Regions from separate parts of the Homo sapiens genome. Here all the other regions are linked to region 1. Evidence: promoter capture Hi-C in human tissues and cell types (Jung and others, 2019). All regions are on one chromosome and are shown on one strand. Each heading gives the region's core, a stretch centred on a gene start or on the middle of the fragment in contact. The rest is flanking DNA. Distances are from core to core; before and after follow the strand shown. Region 1 holds the start of ALDH2 (aldehyde dehydrogenase 2 family member). Region 2 overlaps MAPKAPK5 (MAPK activated protein kinase 5). Region 3 overlaps ACAD10 (acyl-CoA dehydrogenase family member 10).

What was found. Contacts are between HindIII fragments. The study calls those that stand out against the background at their distance.
Region 2: a fragment that was not itself captured here is called in contact with the fragment with the promoter of ALDH2 in region 1 in 2 of the 25 tissues and cell types used here (aorta and bladder).
Region 3: a fragment that was not itself captured here is called in contact with the fragment with the promoter of ALDH2 in region 1 in 3 of the 25 tissues and cell types used here (IMR-90 fibroblasts, hippocampus and mesendoderm cells).

Annotation. Positions count from the first base shown.
Region 1 is chr12:111,765,204-111,768,598 of GRCh38, forward strand. It overlaps ALDH2 (aldehyde dehydrogenase 2 family member), which reads left to right and starts at 1,730. Exons shown (of 13, transcript NM_000690.4): 1 at 1,730-1,893. The coding sequence starts at 1,780. RefSeq lists an enhancer at 1,189-1,958 and a silencer at 1,418-1,737. The HindIII fragment of the contact is 11,183 bases long and covers 1-3,395 here.
Region 2 is chr12:111,880,750-111,884,144 of GRCh38, forward strand. MAPKAPK5 (MAPK activated protein kinase 5) reads left to right here. Exons shown (of 14, transcript NM_003668.4): 9 at 2,832-3,019. Among named protein-coding and RNA genes, the nearest start is that of MAPKAPK5-AS1, 39 kb to the left of the region's middle. The HindIII fragment of the contact is 4,003 bases long and covers 1-3,395 here.
Region 3 is chr12:111,695,031-111,698,425 of GRCh38, forward strand. The region is part of intron 2 of ACAD10 (acyl-CoA dehydrogenase family member 10); the gene reads left to right. Among named protein-coding and RNA genes, the nearest start is that of ACAD10, 11 kb to the left of the region's middle. The HindIII fragment of the contact is 6,900 bases long and covers 1-3,395 here.

The DNA.
Region 1 (3,395 bases), core at 480-2,979:
GTGGCATTGTTTGTAGTGGCAAAAGATTGGAAACAACCTAAATGTCCATCATAGGAAATTCATGAAATAAAACTACCTCATGTATCCAGAGGAATACCATGAAACTGTTGAAGAGAATGGGGACATAGTCCTTGTGTGCTGTGACAAAACGATCTCCACACACAGTATTAAGGGAAAAAAAGTACCTGGCACGGTGGCTCATGCCTGTAATCCCAGAACTTTGGGAGGCCGAGGTGGGCGGATCACCTAAGGTCAGGAGTTCGAGACCAGCTTGACCAATATGATGAAACCCCATCTCTACTAAAAATACAAAAATTAACCAAGTGTGGTGGCATGCGCCTGTAATCCCAGCCACTTGGGAGGCTGAGACAGGAGAATCGCTAGAACCTGGGAGGTGGAAGTTGCAGTGAGCCCACATGGTGCCAGCCTGGGCAACAAGAGTGAAACCCCATCTAAAAAAAAAAAGCAAGGCGCCATTGGGAAGGGGAAGTGGGGCCTGCATGGCTGAATTCAGAGAAGGAAGGGAGTCTTGGTTATCAGATTATCTCTGCAGCTGATCTCCAAACCTATTTCCCTTCTTCCTGGCACAGGGGCCACTCATTTCCCAGACTCTTTTGCATGGAGGCATGGTTGTGTGATTGAAATCCAGCCAGGCGAGCAGGCTCAGCCCACAGAAACCTCCCATGGGCCACCCCCATGCCTTTTCTTCCTCTGGTTTGTGTGGAATGGTGCTGAGCCCCCAGGGCGACTTTGGTGGAATCTGGTGTTGAAATCAGAGTCCCACCGCCGGGCGCGGTGGCTCACGCCTGTAATCCCAGCACTTTGGGAGGCCGAGGCAGGCGGATCATGAGGTGAGGAGATCGAGACCATCCTGGCTAACACGGTGAAACCCCGTCTCTACTGAAAATACAAAAAATTAGCCGGGCGTGGTGGCAGGCGCCTGTGGTCCCAGCTACTCCGGAGGCGGAGGCAGGAGACTGGTGTGAACCCGGGAGGCAGAGCTTGCAGTGAGCCGAGATCGTGCCACTGCACTCCAGCCTAGGCGACACAGTGAGACTCCGTCTCAAAAAAAAAAAAAAAAAAAAGAATAAGCAAATCATGCAAATCATCCTGTTCTAAACTCTGAACCGCTGCTTCCAAGACCGTCCCTGCCCTTGCCCTGGCCGCCTCTCTCCTTGTTAACTGGGCTCCATTCATTCTTTCCATTTCTCTAACACGTGCCAGGTGGTCTCATCTCCTGGCCTTTGCCCTTGCTGTTCCCTGTCATCATTCAGGTCTCACTTGTCATTTCCTGACCATGGTACTTATAAAAGCAGTGCCGTCTGCCCCATCCATGTCACCTCGTTCATCTCCTTCACCTCCGAAATGATCTCGCTTTTGGGTTTACGGCCGGTCTCTTCACCTGGAGCATCAGCCGGGAAGGTCAGGGTCGCCCTGGCTCGGGCCTGTTCACATTGGGGTCAAAGGCACACATTGGGGGCTCAACCAAGGCGAGCTGCGTTCGCGGGGCCGGGTCTTTCCGCACAGGCGGAGGGCGGTGGCGGGCGCGGAGGCGTCGCGCGAGCCAGGGGGCAGCCACGGGCCGGGGGTACCTAGCGCCACCCGCTTCGCTTGCATCAGCTGCGCGCCCCATCCCGAGGAATGGTAGAGGCAGCCCCGCCCCCGGCCCGCCCCCGCCTTTCCATTGGCTGCCGCGCGGGGCGGGGAGCGGGGTCGGCTCAGTGGCCCTGAGACCCTAGCTCTGCTCTCGGTCCGCTCGCTGTCCGCTAGCCCGCTGCGATGTTGCGCGCTGCCGCCCGCTTCGGGCCCCGCCTGGGCCGCCGCCTCTTGTCAGCCGCCGCCACCCAGGCCGTGCCTGCCCCCAACCAGCAGCCCGAGGTCTTCTGCAACCAGGTGAGCCCACCGGCCGGGCTCGCGCTTTGTTTTCCGGCCCGAGTCCCCCGCAGGCCCCTAGGAAGGCCCCGCGCCGCCGTGGGCCTTAGTGTACTCATCTGGGGCTCGAGGGGTTTGCAGAGGCTGACCTGGAAGCACATCTGCCCCCTCCTCTCCTGCAAGCATTTTAGCCCCTTCGCCGCCTCTGACAGTCCCCGTCCCATTTCCCCGTGACTTGGGCCCCCTCTCCGTCTTCGCCCAGCCTCGGTCTGTTTTCCAGGGCCAACTCTCGGGGTTCCGTTCTCCCCATGGTCCTTGCTTTCGGGTCTCCGCAGGGTCCCCACCCTCACCCACTCAGAAGACGCGACCAAGTCCCTCTTTGCAGGAACTTTCCTGTCTTTTCCTTAGTCATCCCCTTTACCCCCTGACTCATGCCCTCATCCAAGGAGTTCAAAAGGAAAAACCAGGAAAGAGGTGATTTGCAGCCACGTTCTCCAGTTCACCATGGGCGAGGCCACGCTCGGCTGCTTCCATTGCTGGGAGTAGGGAATCCTGGAGGACCTTCGGCCCCAGGGGGCCGACCCCAAGGGGTGTCTGCGGCTTCCAACGCCGGCTTCGACCAAACCAAGGAGGAGCTTTCCAGGATAAAACTGATTCCTGTGGTCCATTTATTGATTGCTCAATCAGTAATACTTTGGAATATTTTTTGTTTTGATCTTTGAGTTTGGTTAAAGTTCTAGACTTCACAGAGGCTGAAATTGGTTATGAAAGAGTTTGTTTTGTTTGTGCCAGTGCATGTTGGCTGCCTTCTCTGACTTAAGCTTTTTCTCCTATAAATGGAAAGGCGCTCTGAGGGTTAGGTTCACACAGGCCCTCATCAACCAGTCACTTCATAGTTAATCACAGCTCCTGTCCTGTCTGCACAGCCTTTGTGCAGCACTGTTCTAAGCGTCTACCTGTTTTGCAATTTAAGGTAATTTTTACAACAGCCTCAGTAGGAAGGGACTGTAATTCTCCATTTTACAGATGAAGAGACTGAGTCACAAAGAGGTTTAGTGACTCACCTAAAGACCAAAGTCAGTGGCATAGTTGGGGTTCACAGCTGAACTTCCAGGAGTAAGCCCCTAACCAGAACATTCCATGGTATGTTGTGACTCTGGGTGGGAACAAAGGGACCACCGATCCTCTGGGACTATTGCTGATTTGGGATGCTGTAGAGCTGGCTCCTAGCCAGCTGCTTTCAACAGCACACCTGCTGGTCTGGCCCTGAGTGTGGCTGCAAATCTGGATATAGGTGATGGGTAAAGGCACATGCGTGTGATTTTAGGGGATGTTACAAAGGTCATTTGCAAGGGAATTTTTAAAAGGATAAAATAAAATCTTTTGCATAACACAAGCTAAAAAGGCAGCAGCTATGGCTCCCTTGGCAGCCTGTGCAAGTTCATGCTTGGAAGACTTGAGCATCAAAAGATCTAGCAGAGGCCAGGTGCAGTAGCTCATGCCTGTAAATCCCAGCATTTTGG
Region 2 (3,395 bases), core at 407-2,906, 120 kb after region 1:
AAGTTTTTGTTTAATGAAATATCAAATAAAGTTTGTACCCAATTAGCTTTTGCAGTGGTAATTAGGGACCGTGATCATCAGTCAGGTTATTTTTTTGACTGTCCATATGGTCCACTGGCCACACTGAAAACATATGGTTGGCTTGTGTTTTTGAGGTGGAGGCCATTTCTGAGACACAGACGCTAGAGAACACTTTGTGGTCATTTATGGCACCATTCTTTGTTACCCCATAAAACACCCAGCTTAGAACAGTATCTGATACACATAGCAAGGGCTCCTAAGTGTTACTTGGTAATATTACGGTTCTTAATCTGTAGCCCACATTTTTTTTGTTGTTTTTTTGAGACAGAGTCTCGCTCTGTCGCCCAGGCTGGAGTACAGTGGTGTGATCTCAGCTCACTGCAACCTCCACCTCCTGTGCTCAAACGATTCTCCTGCCTCAGTCTCCCAGGTAGCTGAGATGATGGGTGCATGCCACCACACTCAGCTAATTTTTGTATTTTTAGTAGAGTCGGGGTTTCTCCATGTTGGCCAAGCTGATCTCAAACTCCTGACCTCAAGTGATCCGCCCGCCTCGGCCTCCCAAAGTGCTGGGATTACAGGCGTGAGCCACCGCACCCAGCCTGTAGCCCACATATTGATCCTGTCTGTTCCTTTTTTTTTTTTTTTTTTTGAGACAGAGTCTTACCCTGTCGCCCAGGCTGGAGTGCAGTGGCACAATCTCGGCTCACTGCAACCTCCGCCTCCCGGGTTCAAGCAATTCTCTTGCCTCAGCCTCCCAAGTAGCTGGGATTACAGGCGCCTGCCACCACGCCTGGCTAATGTTTTGTATTTTTAGGAGAGATGAGGATTCACCATGTTGGCCAGGTTGGTCCTGAATTCCTGACCTCAGGTGATCCACTCGCCTCGGCCTCACAAAGAGCTGGGATTACAGGCGTGAGCCACCGTGCCCAGCCGATCCTATCTGTTCTAAAGCACAAGAGGTTTAGGGCCTCTAGAAATAGGCCCTGGAGTCACTGAGTAAGTAGATCAGAAAAAAGATGCTACTTGGGGACTTGAGGCTAGATATAGATGACAGAAGGGGCTGAGAATGGTAAAAAGGCAGTAGGCTGGGACACTTGCTGTGGCTCCACTACTCTTAATCTGTGTAACATTGGTGAGGTCACTTGGTTTCACTCTTGACAGAGGACCTGAGAGATGACATGATCTCTGCAGTATTAGTTCCCTTTCTGGAAAGTGAGGGATTGAAGGTCCCTTTCCACCCCTGTAATTTTATTCTGTGATTCTGTTCTACAGCATGGGCTGTGTCATCCACAAATATCTACTAGTATAATGTGAAAACATGGGCAGGCCTGGCGCAGTGGCTCACGCCTGTAATCCCAGCACTTTGGGAGGCCGAGGTGGGCGGATCACGAGGTCAGGAGATCGAGACCATCCTGGCCACTGTGGTGAAACCCCGTCTCTACTAAAAATACAAAAAATTAGCCGGGTGTGGTGGCGGGCGCCTGTAGTCCCAGCTGCTTGGGAGACTGAGGCATGAGAATCGCTTGAACCCAGGAGGCAGTGGTTGCAGTGAGCTGAGATCGCGCCACTGCACTCCAACCTGGCGACAGAGTGAGACTCCGTCTCAAAAAAAGAAAATACAGGCGAGAGTACCTGAGACACCCCATTATTCAGCCTTTATGCAGAGCACCGCACAGCTGTGGTGTGAGGGGGAGTGTGGGGCCCCAGTGGCAGGCTCACGGGGCTGCCATCTTAGGCAGGCACCTCTTTTATCTCGCTGTTCAAGAAAGGCTTGAATTGAAGCCTCTGCAAACCCAGTTTTCAAAGCAAATGGAGCTGCATTTAACTAAAATAGGAGTCCTTTATGCAGTGATATAGGCCATGGAGTCACCTTACTACCTGCAGACATGGTAGTTGGTAGCAGTTTTCTTTTTTTCACAGTATCTTCCCCCAGAATGGTGTAAGAGCTTGCAAATGGACCTAGTGAGTCCTTCATGGTCAAAGGAATGCATTTAGACCTTCTGTTCTTCCCTCCAGTCCTCTCCATGATCTGTGTCAAACTGCTTTGGGCCTTTATGAAGTGGCCTGTGCTGTACTGTAGGTGAGCCTACCTGTCTCTTAGTTGCTTTGTTTCTACATAGAGGTTTCACAACCAGCTGGTTTATATTTATTTCTTTTCTGGCTGGGGCAAAGCATCCTATACCTGTACACAGGGATCAGATAGGTGCTTGGGCCTAAAGAGTGAGAATGAAAGTACCTGTACATTTTATCCCAGACTGGCTTTGTATGATGGGATGCATGTATGTAGTATTGGCAGCTTATTGAAAATATGGAGAGAGGCCAGGTGTGGTGAGTCACGCCTGTAATCCCAGCACTTTGGGAGGCCAAGGCGGGCAGATCACGAGGTCAGGAGTTCGAGACCAACCTGACCAACATGGTGAAAGCCTATCTCTACTAAAAAAAAAATACAAAAATTAGCCAGGCGGCATGGTGGCACATGCCTGTAATCCCAGCTACTCAGGAGGCTGAGGCAGGAGGAATTGCTTGAACCTGGGAGGCGGAGGTTGCAGTGAGCTGAGATTACGCCACTGCACTCCAGCCTGGGCAACAGAGCAAGACTCTGTCTCAAAGAAAAAAAAAGAAAGAAAGAAAATATGGAGATAAAGACTAGTTCTCCTAAGACTTCCTTCAGCTTTCCTAGTCTCTGTTAAGTGACTCTAGTTTATATCAGCCTATATATTGCAGGGGCTATTCCTGAGCCTGTCATGGGGTGTTTATTTGGGGGCTCTGCTTCTGCTGTGAGTGACCATTTTCTTTTTTGCTTTCAGAGCTGTGACTTGTGGTCCCTAGGGGTGATTATCTATGTGATGCTGTGCGGATACCCTCCTTTTTACTCCAAACACCACAGCCGGACTATCCCAAAGGATATGCGAAGAAAGATCATGACAGGCAGTTTTGAGTTCCCAGAGGAAGAGTGGAGTCAGATCTCAGAGATGGCCAAAGATGTTGTGAGGAAGTGAGTTCACGGGCTGCTGGGCATGGAGGCCAAGGAGGCCTCCAGGTGGTGGAGCACAAGGGAATGTGGGTAGAGAAAAGTCACTGGTTTCCTAGGCAGGCTCCTCCCCGTTTTAATATCACAGAAATCTCTCTGGAGCCTGAGGTGACTGTTCTCAGTGTCCACACCTTGGTGCGAATGAAGCTTTCCTCCCTCCTGTTGCATCCCTAGACTTTGTCCCCAGGGTGTGAACCCAGGTCCCTCCATAGGCAGTCTCTGCACATTAATTCAAGACCCTAAATTATAGACCTGGTGTGCTGTCCTTCTTACCTGTGAGCTGGCATGTCATTTGGGACAGATACAATGCCAGGAGGTGAACTAGGTGCCGAGATGACAA
Region 3 (3,395 bases), core at 265-2,764, 70 kb before region 1:
ATAATAAATAAAATAAAAATAAAGCATAGATCTTGTTCCTTTCATCCCTGGCTTGAAAATCTTGAATGCCTGCATGTGGTCCCCTAGATTAAGTCTAGAAGCTTTCACCTGGGATTCAGGGCTCCTCTCAGTTTTAGCTTTCCTGCTATGGACTACCTGATGCTCCCCAGGCATGCCAGGCACATTTGCATGTTTGTGCCTTTGCAAGCTGTGTTTCCTCCCTGCCTCCTCTGCCTGTTCAAATCCTACTGATGCTTTTAATGGCAAATTTAAGGGGATATTATTCAGCAATGACTGGAATCTTTTGAACACTCAGTAAATCTCATGGTTGTTACTAACTTCAAGAGTCCTCTTCTGTCAAGACTTCTCCAACCTCATTTGCAACCTGGGCAGAATGTTCCTGGATAGCCAATTCCCATTAAGTTTCACCTTCACCGAGATATTTTTGTTTGCAGTGGGATATGTTCATGTCTCCTCTATGGGGCTCTTGGATTCCAGGACCCCAGGTCTGGGATTTCTTCACTTCACTGTTGCAGTGTTAGCTCTGCAGGCTGGCTCAGTCATTCAGGAAATGTTTGATGGGTAAATGTGAACAAAATAGTGATGCCTTCTACTTTGTCTTTTGCTTGACTGGAGCTTCTAATGTTATTTATTTCAAATGAACCATATCAAGGGTCATTTGATAAGAATATACTAGAATTGGCCAGGTGCGGTGGCTCATGCCTTTAATCTCAGCACTTTGGGAGGACGAGATGGGCGGATCACTTGAGGTCATGAGTTTGAGACCAGCCTGGCCAACATGGCAAAATCCAATCTCTACTAAAAATTCAAAAATAAGCGGGGCATGGTGATGGGCACCTGAAATTGCAGCTACTCTGGAGGCTGAGCAGGGAGAACCACTTGAACCCGGGAAACAGAGGTTGCAGTGAGCTGAGATCATACCATTGCGCTGCAGCTTGGGAGACAGAGCAAGACTCTGTCTCAAAAAAAAAAAAAGTATATATATATATACACTAGAATTACTGTACTATACTATTTTTTTTTTTCTTGAGATGGGATCGCGCTCTGTTTCTTAGGCTGGAGTGCAGTGGTACAATCATGGCTCACTGCAGCCTGAAACTCCTGGGCTCAAGCAATCCTGCCTCAGGCTCCCAAGTAGCTGGGACTACAGGTGTTTGCCACTATGCCTAATTTTTGTTTTTTATAGAGATGGGGTCTTGCTATGTTTCTCAAGCTAGTGTCGAACTCCCGGGCTCAAGTGATCCTCCTGCCTTGGCCTCTTGAGTCATTGGAATTACAGGTGTGAGTTACCATGCCTCACCTGCTGTCTGTTTTTGTATGGCCTGTCAGCCAAGAATGACTTTTATGTTTTGAAATACGTAATTGAAAAATATCAAAACAAGAATAATATTTTGTGACATGTGAAAATTATGTGAAGTTCATATTTCAATGTCCATAAAAATGAAATTTTTTAGAAAACCATCTTGCCCATTTGTTTACATATTGTCCATGACTGCTTTTACCCTGTACTGGCAGAGTTGAGTAATTTCAACAGGGTCCGTAATGCTTTCAAAGCCTAAAATATTTACCATCTGGCCCTTTTCAGAAAAGCTTGATTTAAGCTGTTAGTTTACTATAAAATTAGTACGCACAACAAAGAATTCAAAGTATAGCCCAAACATTTTAGTTTTTTTATTTTTTATTTTACTTTATTTTTCTCCAAGAATGCATTTTCAGACCAAAGCTCAAACACTTTAAGATTGAATTTAGGCCGGGCACAGTAGCTCACGCCTGTAATCCCAGCAGTTTGGGAGGCCAAGGCAGGTGGATCACGAGGTCAGGAGATTGAAACCATCTTGGCTAACGTGGTGAAACCCCGTCTCTACTAAAAATACAAAAAATTAGCCAGGCGTGGTGGCAGGTGCCTGTGGTCCCAGCTACTTGGGAGGCTGAGGCAGGAGAATGGCGTGCACCCAGGAGGCAGAGCTTGCAGTGAGCCTAGATGGCACCACTGCACTCCAACCTGGGCGATACAGCGAGACTCCGTCTCAAAAAAAAAAAAAAATTGGGCATGGTAGTCCATGCCTGTAATCCCAGATACTCGGGAGACTGAGGCAGGAGAATTGCTGGAACTCGGGAGGCAGAGGTTGCAGTGAGCCAAGATAGCACCACTGCACTCCAGCCTGGGTGACAGATCAAGACTCCGTCTTGGGAGAAAAAAAAAATTGAATTCAGAGGGTATAATGATTTCGAAACTTCAAAATGTTTGACTTTAAAATTTTTGTTAGTGTGATAGATGAAAATTCCATCTTTGTGGTTTCTTTTCTTTTCCTTTTTTTTTTTTTTTTGAGACAGAGCATCATTCCATTGCCCAGGCTAAAGTGCAGTGGCGTGATCTTGGCTCACTGCAACCTCCATCTCCCGGGTTCAAGCAATTCTCGTGCCTCAGCCTCCCAAGTAGCTGGTATTACAGGTGTGTGCCACCATGCTTGGCTAATTTTTGTATTTTCAGTAGAGACAGGGTTTCGCCATGTTGACCAGGTTGGTCTCTCTCTTTTTTTTTTTTTTTTTTGAGACAGAGTCTTGCTCTGTCGCCCAGGTTGGAGTACAGTGATGCTATCTCAGCTCACTGCAAACTTCGCCTCCCGGGTTCACACCATTCTCCTGCCTCAGCCTCCCGAAGTAGCTGGGACTGCAGGCATCCACCACCACGCCCTGCTAATTTTTTGTATTTTTATTAGAGACAGGTTTCACTGTGTTAGCCAGGATGATCTCAATCTCCTGATCTGGTGGTCCGCCCGCCTTGGCCTCCCAAAGTGCTGGGATTATAGGTGTAAGCCACTGGGCCTGGCCTTTTTTTTCCTGTTATTTTAATGTTCATTTGCCTGATTGCAACTGAGGTTGCGCCTTTTTTTTTTTTTTTTGAGTCGGAGTCTCACATTTGCCTGATTGCAACTGAGGTTGCGCCCTTTTTTTTTTTTTGAGTCGGAGTCTCACTCTGTCACCCAGGCTAGAGTGCAGTGCTGTGATCTCGGCTCACTGTAACCTCTGTCTCCCTGGTTCAAGCTATTCTCCTTCCTCAGCCTCTCGAGTAGCTGGGACTACAGGTGTGCACCACCACACCTAGCTAATTTTTTATATGTTTTTAGTAGAGATGGGGTTTCACCATGTTGGCCAGGCTGGTCTTGAACTCCTGACCTGAAGTGACTTGCCTGCCTCAGGGTTCCAAAGTGCTGGGATTATAGGCACAAGCCACTGCATCTGGCCTTTTTTTTTTTTTTTTTCAGAGAGCATCTTGCTGTATGGCCCAGGCTGTCAGGCTGGTCTCGAACTCCTAGTCTAAAGTGATTCTCCCGCCTCCTGAGTAGTGAGCCTTTTTTTTTTTTTTTAATATT